2 separate regions of the Homo sapiens genome follow, and region 1 is linked to region 2. The links are contacts of gene promoters, found by promoter capture Hi-C in blood cells and fetal thymus (Javierre and others, 2016). All regions are on one chromosome and are shown on one strand. The core of a region is centred on a gene start or on the middle of the fragment in contact, and the rest is flanking DNA. Distances in the headings are between cores, read along the strand shown.

Region 1 (4,398 bases), core at 1-2,500, 170 kb before region 2:
CTGGAAGCATTAAGGTTGAAGTTTTCTTCTAAAGATCAAAGTTTTGATTTGTTATATTAGTTCGGATTTGTTTGATTTTTGTTTGTGTTCGGTTTCAAGTGCTGATTTGTAACTTTTCTCCCCCCCCCACACACGCCTTTTGACCCCTGAATTATTTAAAAGTCCATTGTTGGAGTGGCAAACATCCTCCGAGACTCAAAGGGCAAGGCCATGGGCGCTTTATTCCGGCTGCTGCTCCAGGAACGTGGGAAAGCAGCGGAGTTTTATTCTAGGGGAAGGAAACAAAGGCGGCCGAGTGCCAGCTGCACGTTTGGTGGGATTTGGTCATCAGGGGTGGACATGCTGCCCAATGGAGCTGTCGGCAGTTTGACCCAGCTTGGTCCGTCGCGTCCTGTTCTAGGAATCGATTATTCAAAGAAGGAATTTAGAGGGACTGCAGAAAATGTTACAGGTCTTAACACCATTTTGCATTTCCGCAAACGAACAAGAAGTTAATCCCTGTGTTAGTGATTTCTAAGCCCATTTGCCTTGTGGCCCAAGAACGTTGAGTTTGAAATTTGATGAAACTTGCCTTAAGGCTCAAGTACGAGGCCAGCTTTCAAAAATGGTTTTGTGCCTTGATTGAAAACACTGTATCTTCTAGTTGTTGGATTTATCGTACTCTGCGGCTCTATTGGTTCAAGCTTGTGCGTTGGGCCTTTTAAAATGTGTGTTTCCTGATAATTCCCTTCAGCTTGTCAACTGGGGGTGATGTGGCAGGGAGAAAGAGAGAGAGGAGAGAGAGAGACTGTACTGGCAGGTTTTCCTTGTGCTATTCAATTTTTGCTTCCTATGTTTTGAAGTTTTATTATTAACTGCAGGTTTCATTACTGAATAGATATAGCCAAATTCCTTCCCCCAAAAGATTATAAAGTTTCCTAGTCCTACCAGCAAAATCATTAAGTTCATTAAGGCAAATCCCCTCCAGCGCTGGATGTTGATGCTGTCTTTAATTTTGTATTTTTCTGACTACTTTGTGCAATTGAGGATTGTTTTGGTCTATTGGCCATTTGGCTTTTCTCTTTTGCAAATGTTCATATCCTTTGTCCAGTTTTCTTTAGGGTGATTTTTCCTTTTCGTATCAATTTGTAAACAGTGTACAAATTACATTGTACATTAGGGATATTAACAGTCTGTCAGTTACACTGTACATTAGGGATATTACATTAGAGATATTAACATCTTTGTCCATTAAGGATATTAACCATCTGTCAGTTACATTGCAGTATTTTTCCCTAAACTCTTTTTGTCTTTTGCATTTTATGTTTTTTTAAATGTGCAATTAGAAAAATTTTATATGGGCTGGGCACAGTAATCCCAGCACCCATCTCTACTAAAAATAAAAAAAAAAATAGCCAGGCGTGGTATCTCAACTAAAAAAAAAAAAAAAAATTGCCGGGCATGGTGTTGGGCGCTTGTAATCCCAGCTACTCGGGAGGTTGAGGCAGGAGAATCGCTTGAACTTGGGAAGTGGAGATTGCAGTGAGCTGAGCTCGGGCCACTGCACTCCAGCCTGGGTGATAGAGCAAGACTTCATCTCAAAAAAAAAAAAGAAAGAAAAATTGTATGTGTAATATGTAACTAGTGAAATGTAGCCTCTGATCAGATATGTCTAAACTTTCTTTTATGGCTTTTGTATATCCCATCTTGCCTAGTTTCACTTCCCTATTCCAGATAGAAAGATAATCTTAACATGTATTTCAGTGTTTTTATTGCTTTAATTTTTTCTACTTTAATCTAGTTGGAATTTACTCTGGTATATGGTATGAAATCAAGATCAAGCTTGAACAAGAAGCCTGTGTCACACTTTTTTCTGTGTCAAATAAAAAGAGACTTTAATTAGAAAGACAGACTATTGCAAAAGGGAGAATGCTCCCATCTCAGAAACCTGAGAGCATCTTGAAACCAAACAGAAAAAGGCTTTTCTTGTAGAGGGTAAGGAGGCAGGCAGAGATAAGCAGAATCTGTGGAAAGGAAGCTGCACAAACAAGGGGGAATGGCCAGTGGGGTCTGCCAGGAAATTGTCCCACAGTGGTGCGCCCATTCCCAGGAGAAGCTGAGAAGCAGGGTCCATTGGGAGGGGAGGAATTTCGACTTTTTTTGATGCTTGCCCAGGCTCGGGGGCAAGCAGAGTTAGGAGCTTGTAGGAAAGAAGCCTGGTTCAAGTTTGGCTAAAGAGCATTTTGTTCCAATTGATCAGTGGAGACAAGCAGTTAGGCTTGTCATCTATGAGGCAAAGAATGGGAATTTGGAGAGTGGGTGTCTGGCCTTCTCATAGGTAAACAGGGGACATCCGTGACTTCTAAGTCATATGGGGAAGGATGGTTCTTTGCAGTAAGCCATTTTCCAGAAAAGCCATTTTCCCTTTGGAGTAAGGGGATTTCTTGACCTGCACTGCTCACCAGGATGAGGTAAAATTCAGTATTGCCAGTTGGCACCATTTATGAAACACACCACCTTGTAACCACTGAATTAAATATTGCTTCTGTCATATAAGTTCACAAATATGCTTAGCTTGACCTGAACTCTATTTTGTGTCTGTAGTCTATTTGATTTCAAGGGATTTTTGTTCTTGCAAATTTATTTTCTAGGAATTCTCTGAAGTTTAAAATCATTTAATCAAAAATGAATGCTACCAACCCGTCCCCCACCCCCCGCAAAAAAAAACAAAAACACAGCAAAACTAAATTGTTGTGACTGGGCGAGGTGGCTCATGCCTATAATCCCAGCATTTTGGGAGCCCAAGGTGGGCAAATAACTTGAGGCCAGCAGTTGGAGACCAGCCTGGCCAACATGGCGAAACCCTGTCTTTACTAAAAAATAAAAAAATTAGCCACCCGTGGTGGCAGGCACCTGTAATCCCAGCTACTTGGGAGGCTGAGGCAGGAGAATTGCTTGAACCCAGGAGGTGGAGGTTGCAATGAGTAGAGATCACGCCACTGCACTCCAGCCTGGGCAACAGAGTGAGACTCTCTCAAAAAAAAAAAAAAAAAGCAAACCCTCAACTATTGCTGGGTGAGGTGGCTCACACCTGTAATCCCAGCACTTTGGGAGGCCCAGGCAGGCAGATCACTTGAGGTCAGGAGTTTAAGACCAGCCTGGCCAACATGGTGAAACCCCATCTCTACTAATAATACAAAAATTGGCACAGTGACGCACGCCTGTAATCCCAGCTACTCGGGAGGCTAAGGCAGGAGAATTGCTTGAACCCGGGAGGCAGAGGTTGCAATGAGCTAAGATCGTGCCACTGCACTCCAGCCTGGGTGACAGAGCAAGACTCTGTCTCAAAAAAAAAAATAAATAAACTATTATGATTTTATTGGAATTATATTTATATGAATATAATAGTTGGGGAGATTTAATGTTTTTATTACATTAAGCCTTTCTTTGTATCTAGGGATTTTATGTGTCTGTTTGATTACGTCTTATATGCTGCAATGATATTTATAATTTTTCTTCTTATAAATCCATCATCTTTTTATCTTTTTTGGTTAAATTTATTTTTTGCATATTTATATTTTTGTTGTCATTAAGACTTATTTTTGCTAGTCCCATCTGGTTACTGCTAGTATAGGAATAACCTATTTTTGTACTTTTCTCTTTTATTTTTATTTTTTGAGATAGGATCTTGCCTTGAAGTTCACTGGCATGATCACAGCTCACTGTAGCCTTAACCTTCCAGGCTCAAATGATCCTCCTTCCTCAGCCTCCCAAGTAGCTGGGACTACAGGTGTGCACTACCAGACCCAGCTAATTTTTAAATTTTTCCGTAGAGATAGGTTCTCCCTATGTTGCCCAGGCTGGTGTCAAACTCCTGGACTCAAGTGATCCTCCCACCTCAGCCTCCCTAATGGCTGGGACTACAGGTGATAATTTTATCTTGTATCCAACTCCTTATCAAAACTATCTACCTATTCTGGTAGCTTCTTATTACAGTTTTTTCCTAGGTTTTCTAATTGTACAGTTGTATCAGATATAGATAATATTTCCTATCTGACATTTGATATATTTCTTCTTTTTTCACTGTATTAGCTGTCTAATAAGGTAGCGTCTAAGCTCATTGGCTATTTATTTTATTTTTTATTATTATTTTTTGAGACAGGGTCTCACTCTGTCACCTAGGCTGGAGTGTAGTGGCACGATCTCTACTCACTGCAGCCTCTACCTCCCAGGCTCAGGTGATCCCCTCACCTCAGCCCTCCAAGTAGCTGGGACTACAGGCATGTACCACCACGCCCAGCTAATTTTTGTATTTGTAGAGACTTGATTTCACCATGTTGCCCAGACTGATCTCAGACTCTTGACCTCAAGGGATCCACCTGCCTTGGCCTCCCAAAGTGCTGGGATTACAGGCATGAG
Region 2 (3,856 bases), core at 185-2,684:
GGATTAAAGGAACTCATTCATATGAAACACTCTGCCTGATATACGGCAGGTGCTCAATAAACGCTAGCTCCTATTGGCATTACTATCATCACTGGCGCTAATGTATTCACTTATTGTAGTGAGGCAGAACGTCTTTGTGGTTACGAGTGTGACCAGGCTGACCCACTATTAAGAGGTGGAGGACAGGGAAGGCCGTACAGTGCTCCATCACAAGGAAAAGAGGATCAGCACGTTCTCTTCTGGGAAGGGAAAAAAAAAGAGAAGGAAATTGAAAGTACACGGCCGATCTTCCCCCAATTACAAAGCACTGGACTCACGGGAGGGTATGCGGGGGACTGTGCAAGCATACAGGGGTGTGGGGGAGGAAGGCCAATGAACAGATCCACTGCAAAGGGAGGGGTGATGAGGCTCATCGTCTGAGGGGAAGGGGAGCAGAAAACCTTACAGACTCCTGCACCACAGTGAGAGGAGAGAAAAGCCATCACACAGACTGATTCAAAGCAGAGAGGGAAAAGGCTATGGACTGAGCTACTGAAAATAGGGAGATGTAAAGCACTAAACTAACCCACTATTAAAAAGGAGAGAACCCCAAGCGCTAGAGCGACAGTCTACGAAAAAGAGGAGACAGGGCAATGGACTGATAGCTAAAGGGACGTGAATCCAAACATGAAGACTGATCCACTATAAAATGGTGGTGGTGGTGGTGGGGGGGGGGGGTGGTTTTGAAAAAAGCCATGGACTGATGCATTGGGGGACTGGAGGAGGCAGGAATACAAACTCAGGTAGACTCACTGTTAAAGAGGGATGCGGAGGAGTGCGGCGCCACGGATTGATTCGCTACGATGTACAGGAAGGGTGGAATAAATAAGGCCACGGACGGGTCTCCTGAAAGTTGAGGCTAGGAGAAATCCAAACACTCAGATACACCTACTATTAAGGGGGCTGAACACTGTCACAGGCTAGCTCCCTATAAGTGGGGGTGGGTGGGGGGCGGGTGGGGGTAGGGGTAGGGGGAAAGCCTATGGACGAGTCCACCCTAAGTTGGCGTGGGGAAAAACATAAGCACGCAGACCGATCCATTATACAACGGGAGGGGGAGGTTAGGCCACGGTCAGATCCACTATAAGGGACGAAGGGCTTGAGCAATGCCACACGCAGGTCCACCAGCCGTGGTGGTGGCGGCGGGGAGTCGAACACCAGCAGGCCACCGGCCAAGCCACATCCTCTGCGCGGGGGCGGGAAGGATACGTGGGGTCACGGACTGGGCCCTCCACCCTCCAGGCCCAGAGCTCACCTGTGTGTAGCGTGGCGGTGGCGTTGGCAATGTTGGCAGCTCCGGGGGGCGGGGGCTCCATACGCGGCCCCACCGCCCCCCAGGCCTGGGTTCCGAGGCGGCGGTGGAGGTGGTGGTGGCGGTGGCGGCGGCAGCACCTAGAAGCCGCCCCTGCGTTTCCCTACAGCTCACGTGGGCCCGAGGAGGAGGAGCCCAATGTCCCGCCGCTCGCTGATTGGCCAAAGCGCTATTAATCGGCCGCAAGGCCTCGAGGGGTTGGGGGACGGGCCCTTCCCTACAGAGCTGTGCCGTGATTGGCGTAAGGGGAAATGATGGAACGCTCACGGCCCCTGGAGTCCCGAGGAGGCGCGTTCGGCCTTCACGGTGCTCCACGCCGATTGGCTCAAGGACTGACGGACTGTGAGCAACTGAAAAGGCTCGGGGCCTGTGTCGGGGGGGCGGGGGTCTGCCTCACACTGATTGGCTTACATGGGATTGATGGAAGACAGCCCCCAAGGACGGGGGTGGGTGGCCCTGTTTTTCTCTGATTGGCGGACGAGGGACTTCTAGACCCCTGCCAAAACACCAAGGGGGCGGTGTCGCACGCCATGCTGCTCAGCGGAAGCAGGGCTTGTATAGAAATGGGCGTAGCAGCCGGCGGGAGTGGGTCGGACTGGGCTCCGCGTAGGCGGGCAGGGCAGCTCTACGGTTAGACAAGACCATAGAGCTGGGTAAAGACGAATTTAGAACACAGCGGAGGTAGGAGGGCAGGATGGCTGTCAGGCACACGAAAGAGCATTGAGTGGCAGAAACGAAATGCTTTCAGAGGGCAGGGTTGAACTGCGGCCAGAGTTAAAAAGGGGAGGAACCTGGCTCTGCATTGATTGGCGGTGGCTGGACTCAACCTAGAATAGGGGCCCGACTAGGGAGAGCGGGATCCAGGTCTGTGCCCATTGGAAGCTGGAACACTTACAAGCAGGGGCTAAGACAAGGTAGGGCTGAGTTAGGGTTTGGGTGTAATTTGGGGTACCTGGGGAATGATTGGGTGTGTGAAAGCGTAAACCTTAGGGCCCTTTGATTGTTGTGGGAATGAACAAACCTCCACCATGAATTGGCCCATTCTCTATGGCAATTCAAAGGGTGGCGTCTAGGAAAAGGAATGGAAGAAAGGGTGAGGTGGGGGGCCCAGGTTGCCAAGATGACAGAAGAGAGGGCAGTGCATAAGGTCAACTGGCAAATACTGCCAGGCAACAGGCTGGAGGCAGGACTGCTGGGGCATTTTGGAGGTTCCACAGAGAGACTGGATCTCTGGGTCTCTCAGTAACTTTGTGCCCTAGGAACAGGCCCCCGTGGCAACTAGCAGGGTTTATGGGGAAAAAGAAGGGCCATGTGACTCAAAGGCATTCAGGCTCTTTAATGTCTGAGGATGGGGGGAAGAAGTCAATGGTGAGGCTTCTCTGGGAAATTCTGCAGGCCTTGTAGTTCTCTAAGCCCCTGAAAAAGAGGACAGAAGAGATTGAACAAAGACTGGGTCTGGGTTACGCCCCCAGGCTTGCTCTGACCTCCCTCCCTTGACTCCAGTTTAGAGGGAAAGATGGTCCTTCCCTTCTTTCGCTCTCTTCCTTCTTCAGGTCACCACCCTAAACACAGAGTCTGGTAGTGGGGTGAGCTGCTCTCACCTCTAGCAACATGTGGATATGGGCTTTGATATTCATGGAGTCCTTGGTGAGGCTGTTGCTGAGCCTAGAGAAAAGAAACAAGAAAGGGCAAAATGGGCCCCACATGATTATGATGACCCTTCCTTATCACTTCAAGATCTACTTATATCCTGGATGATTTCCACCTGGCTCATTCCTATGTGGAAATGCCAAGCCACCATCTGGTTTTCACTGATTCAAAGATTATTAAATGCCTACTGTATGCCAGGCAATTTTAGGCACTGGGAGATAGCAGCAAACACAACAAACAAAACTCCCGGCCTGATGGACTTCAAATTCTTGTAAAGAAAGACATAACAAAAAACCAATGGAATAAAAGCTATGTGTCAGATGGTTCTAACTACAATAACAAAAATTAAAAATGAGAGACAATAAGGAGTACAGGAGTGGGGGGCTGCAATTTTAAAGAGGGCTCAGGGATGGCTTCACGGAGAAGCATTTGAGTAAAGACTTAAAGACAGTGAATTTTGAGTAGTGTGGCTATATGGAGGATGTGTTCCACACACAAGGGGCAGCAAACACAAAGGCACTGAGGTGGGAGTGTGCCTGGCATGTTTGAGGTGCAGCAAAGAGGCCACTCTGGCTGGAGAAGAATAAGTGAAGGGGGAATGTAAGAGGTGAGGTCAGAGAGGTAATGAGGGAGACAAACTGTGTGAAGCCTACAAGGCCATGGTAAGGACCCTGGCTTTGACCTTAAGTGAGATGGGAGCCAAGGGAAGGTTGCAGCAGAGGAAGGAGGTTGAATTACATGAACCAGTCAGTTGACTCCTTTTCTCTAAGCCAGTTTGGATCAGATCTCGCCCAAAAGAATCCTAATTGATATAAAGGGTCAAGGAAGGCCTTTCTCAAGAATGAAGAATGAGAA

The links. The method cuts DNA at HindIII sites, captures the fragments that hold promoters and counts their contacts. A CHiCAGO score of 5 or more calls a contact.
Region 1: a fragment that was not itself captured here is called in contact with the fragment with the promoter of ELK1 in region 2 in 5 of 17 cell types (non-activated CD4 T cells, naive CD4 T cells, activated CD4 T cells and 2 more); the score reaches 6.4 in non-activated CD4 T cells.

Annotation. Positions count from the first base shown.
Region 1 is chrX:47,483,395-47,487,792 of GRCh38, forward strand. LINC01560 (long intergenic non-protein coding RNA 1560) reads left to right here. Exons shown (of 1, transcript NR_126059.1): 1 at 1-1,833. Among named protein-coding and RNA genes, the nearest start is that of ZNF41, 2.4 kb to the left of the region's middle. The HindIII fragment of the contact is 1,138 bases long and covers 682-1,819 here.
Region 2 is chrX:47,649,129-47,652,984 of GRCh38, forward strand. ELK1 (ETS transcription factor ELK1) reads right to left here and starts at 1,435. Exons shown (of 7, transcript NM_001114123.3): 1 at 1,295-1,435; 2 at 793-898. UXT (ubiquitously expressed prefoldin like chaperone) reads right to left here. Exons shown (of 7, transcript NM_004182.4): 6 at 2,953-3,016; 7 at 2,668-2,767. The coding sequence ends at 2,714. RefSeq lists a cis regulatory region at 898-1,878 and a silencer at 1,210-1,619. The HindIII fragment of the contact is 5,079 bases long and covers 1-3,856 here.